Regions from separate parts of the Homo sapiens genome. Here region 1 is linked to region 2. Evidence: promoter capture Hi-C in 16 types of primary human blood cells and fetal thymus (Javierre and others, 2016). All regions are on one chromosome and are shown on one strand. The core of a region is centred on a gene start or on the middle of the fragment in contact, and the rest is flanking DNA. Distances in the headings are between cores, read along the strand shown. Region 1 overlaps BMPR1A (bone morphogenetic protein receptor type 1A). Region 2 holds the start of OPN4 (opsin 4).

The links. The method cuts DNA at HindIII sites, captures the fragments that hold promoters and counts their contacts. A CHiCAGO score of 5 or more calls a contact.
Region 1: a fragment that was not itself captured here is called in contact with the fragment with the promoter of OPN4 in region 2 in 1 of 17 cell types (M1 macrophages); the score reaches 5.2 in M1 macrophages.

Annotation. Positions count from the first base shown.
Region 1 is chr10:86,915,428-86,920,034 of GRCh38, forward strand. BMPR1A (bone morphogenetic protein receptor type 1A) reads left to right here. Exons shown (of 13, transcript NM_004329.3): 9 at 1,707-1,899; 10 at 3,745-4,042. Among named protein-coding and RNA genes, the nearest start is that of MMRN2, 40 kb to the right of the region's middle. The HindIII fragment of the contact is 5,300 bases long and covers 708-4,607 here.
Region 2 is chr10:86,653,095-86,657,576 of GRCh38, forward strand. It overlaps OPN4 (opsin 4), which reads left to right and starts at 1,453. Exons shown (of 10, transcript NM_033282.4): 1 at 1,453-1,833; 2 at 3,061-3,206. The coding sequence starts at 1,690. The HindIII fragment of the contact is 3,648 bases long and covers 1-2,495 here.

The DNA.
Region 1 (4,607 bases), core at 2,108-4,607, 260 kb after region 2:
TTTCTCAAAAAGGGTACATTTTATATAAATTATACCTCAATAATCTTGACTTAAAAACTTACAGGCTGAGGCAGGCAGATCACTTGAGGTCAGGTGTTCGAGACCAGTCTGGCCAACATGGTGAAACCCTGTCTCTACTAAAAATACAAAAATTAGCTGGACGTGGTGGCAGATGCCTGTAATCCCAGCTGCTCGGGAGGCTGAGGCAGGAAATTGTTTTAACTGGGGAGGCAGAAGTTGCAGTGAGCTGAGATTGGCCGCCGCACTCCAGCCTGAGCAACGGAGCGAGACTCTGTCTCAAAAAAACAGAACAAAATTTACAAAAGGATTCTATAATAAATGATACATAAAGTCACTTTAGCTTTGCACTAAATCTAGTCCATTTTAGAAGCATTTCCAACTTGGAGCATAATGTTCTTTTTAATTTAGAATGATCACTAATGCTTCTGAAAATGAAAGATAACAATCCATGTACATCTTTTATTTAACAAATATTAAAGTACTTCTGATATTGTCCCAAATAAATACTTATATTCTGTGAGCAGGGGATGGAATTCAAGCAAATATATATGTAAATAAGAATAAAGTTATGATTGTGTTAAGCGCAGCAACTGAGAGGTTTTGTGTGCTATGAAGGTGTTTAAGTGAGAAAATAGCACTCTAAGTAAAGGGAACTGGATATTCAAAAAAACCCAGCGACAGGAATAAGCTTGAGTGAATTCTAAAAGTTGAGATAAGTCAAACGAGGTTTGTGGGTGGGTGGTCAAAGCAAATAATGGGACCAGGCCAGATCAGGCAGGGTCTTATAGATGGGATTTTTAAGATCTTTAACTGTTATTTGGACTTTGCTGCATAATAAACCACCCCAAAACTTAGTGATGTGAAGCAACAAACATTATTTCTCATTCTGTGAGTCTGTGGGGCAGTTCATTTGTTGGACTTGCTTAGCTAGAGCTAGGTGGTGTAGTTCACACCCTTGGCCGACAGTTCATGCTGCCATTATTTTTTGGTCACAGGGTTCCCAAAGCAGCAGGAAGGGGGCAAGCCCCAGTCCACAAACATTTGTCAGGTCTTTGCTTGCATCACGTTCGCTGTTGTTCTTTTATCCAAAGCAAGTCATGTGGCCTAAGCCCTGAGTCTGTGGACCAAGACTACCCACGACTGTGTGCACTGGGAGGGTAATTATTATGACCATTTTTGCAAACAGCCAGCCACTTGAATAACCTGTTTATGATTTCAGAATACATTGTACATTGTTTCATACTTTAAAGTACATTATGGCCGGGCATGGTGGCTCACGCCTGTAATCCCAGCATTATGGGAGGCCGGGGGTGGGGTGGATCACCTGAGGTCAGGAGTTCAAGACCAGCCTGGTCAACGTGGCTAAACCCCATCTCTACTAAAAATACAAAAAAATTAGCTGGGCATGGTGGCGGGTGTCTGTAATCCCAGCTACTTGGGAGGCTGAGGCAGGAGAATCACTTGAATCTAAAAGGTGAAGGTTGCAGTGAGCCGAGATCGCGCCACTGCACTCCATCCTGGGTGACAGAGCGAGACTCCATCTCAAAAAAAAAAAAGTACATTATAAGTTTTTAACTGGAGTTGGTTGGGTACACCATGCTTTTTGATGAGATGGACTACCCCTTTGCCAGTCTTAATGGGTTTCTTTCATCAAGAGCTCAAACCTTTTACTTTTTTCTATAAAGGTTCAGCGAACTATTGCCAAACAGATTCAGATGGTCCGGCAAGTTGGTAAAGGCCGATATGGAGAAGTATGGATGGGCAAATGGCGTGGCGAAAAAGTGGCGGTGAAAGTATTCTTTACCACTGAAGAAGCCAGCTGGTTTCGAGAAACAGAAATCTACCAAACTGTGCTAATGCGCCATGAAAACATACTTGGTGGGTACACACTGATTCAGTCAATTTCATTTTTGACAAGGCTAGTGAGGTACAGGTGGAAGCCTCCATATGTGCTTTGAAAATGTGTGAGTTCAACTATATACATTTGGCTAAAGGAAACCTAGTAGAATACACGGTTTGAATAAAACATAGTCCGGAATGCCAACCAAGATCTTTCTTTACTAACCAGCTGAAGAAACAGCAGTGAGTTTCAAATGGAAAATAATACTAGTTTATTGGACTTACTCCCATAGTAATGAAAACCCAGTCTTTTATAGATAACTTAAGCAGTGATTTAGGGTAACATTAACATATGTGCCTTTTCCCTTTCATAAGCTCAACAGCCCAACATGCAGTTTCATTGTACGTTCTGTGTTTAATGTGTGTTTCCCCCCATCTCCACATTTACACAATAGCAAAGTAATTTAGGTGTGAGCTGGTCAGTCAGGTACATAAGCCGATCTGGCTATCCTGAGTTTTCTTTTCCCTTCACCTCTTGTTTTCCTCCCTTTAATTTGGAGAGCCCATAGCATGTTGCCAAGCAGGCAATTGTATTAGTTTCCTAGGGCTGCTGTATCAATTACCACAAACTGGGTGGCTTCAACCTCCAAAACGTATTCACTCAGTTTTCGAGGCTAGAAGTTTAAAACCAAGGTGTTGGCAGAGCTGTTGTGTCTCTGAATACTCTAGAGGAGGAGCCTTCCTTGCCTCCTCTGGCTACTGGTTGGTGGCCAGGAATTTTTGGTGTTCCTTGGCTTAGTATAGACAACACTCTAGTCTCCATTTCTGTCATCAGGTGGCCTTCTCCCTGGGTGCCTGGGTCCACATTTCCACCTTACAACATCACCAGCCATTGAATTCGGGCCCACGCTAATCCTGTATGAGTCATCTTAACTTGATTACATCTGCAAAGACCCTCTTTCCAAATAAGGTCACGTTTATAGATGACATGGATTTTAGACATGAATTTTGTCGGGGAGCACTGTTCAGCTCAGTACATAGCACTCACTGACCTTTTTCTGGAGGGAAGAGGGTAGGAGAGAAAGGAAAAGAGCAGGACTGTGGGCCTGGCAGTCAACGAGCCAGACTGAAAAGGCAGCTGTGATGAGTCACTGATGGGCAAATGGGAGTTGGCTTAATTAGGAGCTAACTCTTAGTTGAACATTCTTAATTTTATAAAAGTGTCCACTTTTTGCTTTGAAATTGAGAGCCTTTTCTACTAGAGAATCATGTAGGTTGATAATATTCTCCAGGTTATTTGTATAATATGTCATCTTTTTCTTTTCTTTCCTTTTCTTTTCTTTTTTTTTTTTTTGAGACGGAGTCTCATTCTGTCGCTCAGGCTGGAGTGCAGTGGCGCCATCTTGGCTCACTGCAACCTCTGCCGCCAGGTTCAAGTGATTCTCTTGCCTCAGCCTCCAGAGTAGCCGGGACCACAGGCACTTGCCACCATGCCCAACTAATTTTTGTATTTTTAGTAGAGACGGGGTTTCGCCCTGTTGGCCAGGCTGGTCTCGAGCTCCTGACCTCAAGTGATCCTCCTGCCTTGGCCTCCCAAAGTGATACAGGTGTGAGCCACCACACCCAGCATATATGATCTTTTTCTTAATCCTATTCACTTTCATGATTATTAAGATTATTATAAATTTATTGTAGAAGTACAGATATATGTGTAAATGTAGAAATATAATTTTTAGTAACACATTCACGACTTGGTGTCAGGCGAATTAAAGTTTCACTATCTGCACATGATACCTAAGTTTTTCTCAGTATCCAGAATGAGCATTACTTCTCCCTAGCCTATCTCTGATGATAACTAACCTTTTAAACTCATCAACTGGACAGGTTTCATAGCGGCAGACATTAAAGGTACAGGTTCCTGGACTCAGCTCTATTTGATTACTGATTACCATGAAAATGGATCTCTCTATGACTTCCTGAAATGTGCTACACTGGACACCAGAGCCCTGCTTAAATTGGCTTATTCAGCTGCCTGTGGTCTGTGCCACCTGCACACAGAAATTTATGGCACCCAAGGAAAGCCCGCAATTGCTCATCGAGACCTAAAGAGCAAAAACATCCTCATCAAGAAAAATGGGAGTTGCTGCATTGCTGACCTGGGCCTTGCTGTTAAATTCAACAGGTGAGTGGTTCTTTGCCCCACTGTTTTGAAATTATTTTAATTTCCAAAAGATATTTCCCTATTTGTATTCAAGATAATGGAATTCTAAAAATGTGCATATGCTTGTTTTTAGTTACATAAATGTATAGTTGGGGGGGATTTTGTTCTTTTTACAAAAATTGTGTCCTACTTCTCCTATACATAATTCTTGATATATATATATTTTTTTGGTGTTTTTTTTTGTTTGTTTTTTGTTTTTTGTTTTTTGTTTTTTTTAAAGACAGTGTCTCACTCAGTTGCCCAGGCTGGAATATAGTAGTGTGATCTTAGCTCACTGCAACCTCGACCTCATGGGCTCAAGCAATCCTCCCACCTCAGCCTCCTGAGTAGCTGGGACTACAGGCATGCACTGCCACACCTAGCTAATGTTTTTATTTTTTGCGGAGATGGGGTCTCACTGTGTTGCCTAGGCTGGTCTCAAACTCCTAGGCTCAGCTGATCCTCCCAAAGTGCTGGGATTACAGGTGTGTGCCATATAGTCTTAGCCATCCTTCCATTTCAGCTGATGTAAATCTACTTCATTCTT
Region 2 (4,482 bases), core at 203-2,702:
CTTCTGACATCCAGTCAACTTGGATCAGGCCTGCAGGCCTGGGTGAGTTCCTGGGACTCTCCCAATAAGGTTTTAAAAAATCTTTATACTTTAAAAATTTCTGCCGGGCCCAGTGGCTCACGCCTGTAATCCTGGCACTTTGGGAAGCCGAGGTGGGTGGATCACCTGAGGTCAGGAGTTCGAGACTAGCCTGGCCAACATGGTGAACTCCTGCCTCTGCTAAATATACAAAAATTAGCCAGGTGTGGTGGCGAGTGCCTGTAATCCCAGCTACTCGGGAGGCTGAGGCAGGAGAATTGCTTGGACCTGGGAGGCGGAAGTTGCAGTGAGCTGAGATTGCACCATTGCACTCCAGGCTGGGTGACAGAGCAAGACTGTCTCAAAAAAAATAAAAATAAAAAAATAAAACTTTCTTATCAAAAAACAAGCAAAAGCCGCCTCGTGATCTGATCTCACCCTACTGCTACATCCTCCTTGTGTCTCCATCTGTGAAAGGGTGACCAGCCTTGGTTCTATGCAGGGTGACTGTGAAAATGCCATGGCTCATGGGGGCCAAACATGGTGGTAGGGCCCACTGTGACAAGGGTGAGGCTGGGCTGCACAGGCTCAGCTGCCCACAAACAGCTCTGGGGGCTCTTGGGATGGCTGAGGCTGCTCTTGATGAGCTCAGGGAAGAAACACAACAGAGACTGGTCAAAGGAGAGGACACAGCCTTCTGCCCAATGTCCAAGAGCCCGAGCCCAGGAATCTCCCTTGAAACACACACTCTCACACACACTCTCACACACACACATGCTCTCACTCACTCACACTCACACACACTCACATGCACACACACTCACACATTGACACCACTGTCAGCTCAGAAATCTCCCTTGAAACACACACACTCACACACATACACATTCACACCACCATCATCCCAGAAATCTCCCTTGAAACACATACACACTCACACACACACACACTCACACACATTCCCAACACCATCCCAGAAATCTTCCTTGAAACACACACACTCACGAACCCTCACACACACACACACACACACGCACACATTCATGACACCATCCCAGAAATCTCCCTTGAAACACATACACACTCACATACACATTTACGCCATCATCCCAGAAGTCTCCTTTGAAACACACACTTTCACACACTCACACACACACACTCACACACACTCACATTCACACCACCATCATCCAGAAATCTCCCTTGAAACACACACACTCACACACACATTCATGCCACCATCATTCCAGAAGTCTCCCTTGAAACACACACACACACACACACACACTCACACATACACATTCACGCCACCATCATCAGACCTTCGTAGATAGACACCCAGAGACCTTGGTCTGAGTGAGCTGGCGGCATGGAGCGACTGAGCATGTGCAGCTCCCACATCGCTATATAAAGATGGGGATGAACTCTGTGGCTGTGAGTCACCATAACTGCGACACTCACTCATTTGCGCTTCACCAGACACAGAGCAACCGCCAGCCCCAAGAGCAGCTCCAGGCTGGATCTGCGCCGGACACAGGAGAAAGCAGCGGGTAGGCTAAGCAGGGGTGCTGAGGATGGAGGAAAGTTGGGAGGCTGAGCACAGCTGAAGTCCTGAGCTCCCTGTGCCCTTGACTTCTCTGTGGGCTCGAGCAAGGACCATCCCAACTCAGGATGAACCCTCCTTCGGGGCCAAGAGTCCCGCCCAGCCCAACCCAAGAGCCCAGCTGCATGGCCACCCCAGCACCACCCAGCTGGTGGGACAGCTCCCAGAGCAGCATCTCCAGCCTGGGCCGGCTTCCATCCATCAGTCCCACAGTAAGCCTGGGCGAGCATGTGCATGCACAGAGCCTTCCCTGACCCCTTCCTGGTCCCCTCCTGGCCACACACAGGGGCTTTGACAGGGAGATAGAAAAGGTCTGAACTCTGCTGTGGGGCCTTGAGCCATTACTGGACCTCTCTGAGCCCGCCCCTGATAAACAGGCTGATAGAGGAGGGTGCAGGCAATGTCCTTCCTCATGGAGAGCATTCAAGGAACAGAAATGCCAGCCCTGAGGACAAGGGGCTGGAATGGCCAGACCTGTCCTTGGCTGCACTCATTCCTTTCAGAGGTTGCTCGGATGCCCCATGGAGCCCTCCAGGGAGGAGGGCACACCCTGGGCCTCTGGATCTGCCAAGCCCACAGTGAAGCCTTGGGTGCCTTCTGCCACCTCCATCATCCTAGCCCAGGCCCAGGGCCATATTCCATCAACACCACTGCTACCTGGGGAAGGCCGAGGGCACCCTCAGGACCTGGGGATGCTGGCCCAGGTGCTGGACAGGATGGGAAGGCTCCGGTAGCTATAGGGGCCACTGCGGCAGGACAGAGACCAAGCCACCCTCTCTTCCCCAGAAAGGGGTTAGGGTGGGAGGAGTCTTTAAATCCCTTTGTCCTGACCTGATATGGTCATGACCTCCCTTCAGTGACCCTGGGAGGCCTAAGCTTTCTTTCTAAAGGGAATTCCCTTCATTTTCATGCCAGGCATCAAGGTTAGCTGTACCCAGCTATGCTATTGGGCAATGCAGCTTCTCCTCTAAGGCTCAGTAGGGGACGGGACTCTTGAGAGGGGCTCCACCCGACTCACCACCCCAGCGTCTAGAGGCCTCAAAAACTGTCTTGGGCCCTTGGGCTGGAGTCCATACTGCAGGCAGGGATGCACCCAGGAGTTGGCTCTGTCTTCTCCCTAAGGAAAGATAGGGTGACCAGGGCCATGTCCCTGCTTGCCAGTCACATGTCTGTCTGTCCTACCAGCCTCCAGCAGGTGATCTGAGCCCACTCCTAGAAGGCCCCTGTGCCATGTTCTAGGAGCTTGGGCTGGACTTTAGAAAGGACCTGCACTTCCCTTCTGCTTTTGGCCACTTGTGAGCTGTGTGTGCAACTGGCTTTGCCACTCTGAGCCTCAGTTTTCCCACCTGCCCTGTTGAGAATCCTAACTCTTCCTTCTCAGGACTATTTGAAGGTGACAAGCGATAACATGATTCCCTCGTTTCTCTGTCTCTCCGCAGGCACCTGGGACTTGGGCTGCTGCCTGGGTCCCCCTCCCCACGGTTGATGTTCCAGACCATGCCCACTATACCCTGGGCACAGTGATCTTGCTGGTGGGACTCACGGGGATGCTGGGCAACCTGACGGTCATCTATACCTTCTGCAGGTGCCTGGTTGGTGGTGCTGGGCCCAGGGCACTGAGGGTGGCAGCCATGCAGACAGGGAAGAAAATGCAGGCAGGAATGTTGACTCTAGCTCTGGCCAGGGCACTGTTGAGGCTAGGCAAGGAGGGCAGGGCCATGCCTTCGATGATCTCAGGCCCAGACCTTCCTGAAGGTCACGGAAAGGGCCAAAAATGGTCCAGGGAGACTTGACTGACTGGCACTAATTGAGACCCAGGTGCATCCTCTGTGGAGGGTGTGTGTGCCCAGAGTATGTGGGTCTCTGACCATTCTGCCCTGCTCTCAGCGCACCTCTCCGTCACCTGCCCCAGAGAGCATCCTCCCCCTGCGTTGAAGAGCAGCTCTAGGCCAGGCGTGGTGGCTCCCGCCTGTAATCCCAGCACTTTGGGAGGCCAAGGCGAGCAGATCACCTGAGATCAGGGTTCGAGACCAGCCTGGCCAATGTGGTGAAACCCCCGTCTCTACTAAAAATACAAAAATTAGCCAGGTGTGGTGGTGTGTGCCTATAATCCAAGCTGCTTGGGAGGCTGAGGCAGGAAAATCGCCTAAACCTGGGAGGCGGAGTTTGCAGTGAACCGAGATCATGCCACTGCACTCTAGCCTGGGCAACAGAACAAGACTCCATCTCAAAAAAAAAAAAAAAAAAAAAAGAGCAGCCCTGGGGACCAGCATCCTCAAGTCCCTCAAACACCCCTGACACCCACCCCCAGTGTCCCTCTCCATCTGCCCCCCTGCCTGGCTCAGTGGCTGAGACAGGCAGGTGGAGAAGGGAACCCAGGCTGCAGGGCCACACAGCCCCCTGGCTCTCCCACCTGCCAGCTGAAGGACTGGGCACGTCATTTCTCCTCCTTGAGCTCACTTTTCTTTCCGCAAAACAGAGCTGTGCTTCGTGGAGTCACTGTGATGATGCAGTAAGTTCACGGATGTGCGTTGCCCCACAGATGAGCCACTTACTGAGTGCTGTGCACCGGAGCAAGTCACTTCATGAGTGGGAGCATCTTGTCTGGAAAATGGGGACAATGACGCCTCCCTCAGGGTAGATGCAAAGATGGATGATGACAGGAGCCGAGGCTGGTGAAAGTGCCTGGCCCGGCCGTGGTGCACAGCCATCAGCTCCTCTGCCCTTGGCCATCCCCAAGCATGAGGATTACAGAGACAGTGTGCAGGGCAGGGTCCAGGCAGGACGTGACACTGGAGGGAGAGTGGGAGGGGGACCCGCGGAGGAGGGAAGCGTGAGAAGCCATGGGAAAGCACAGTCAG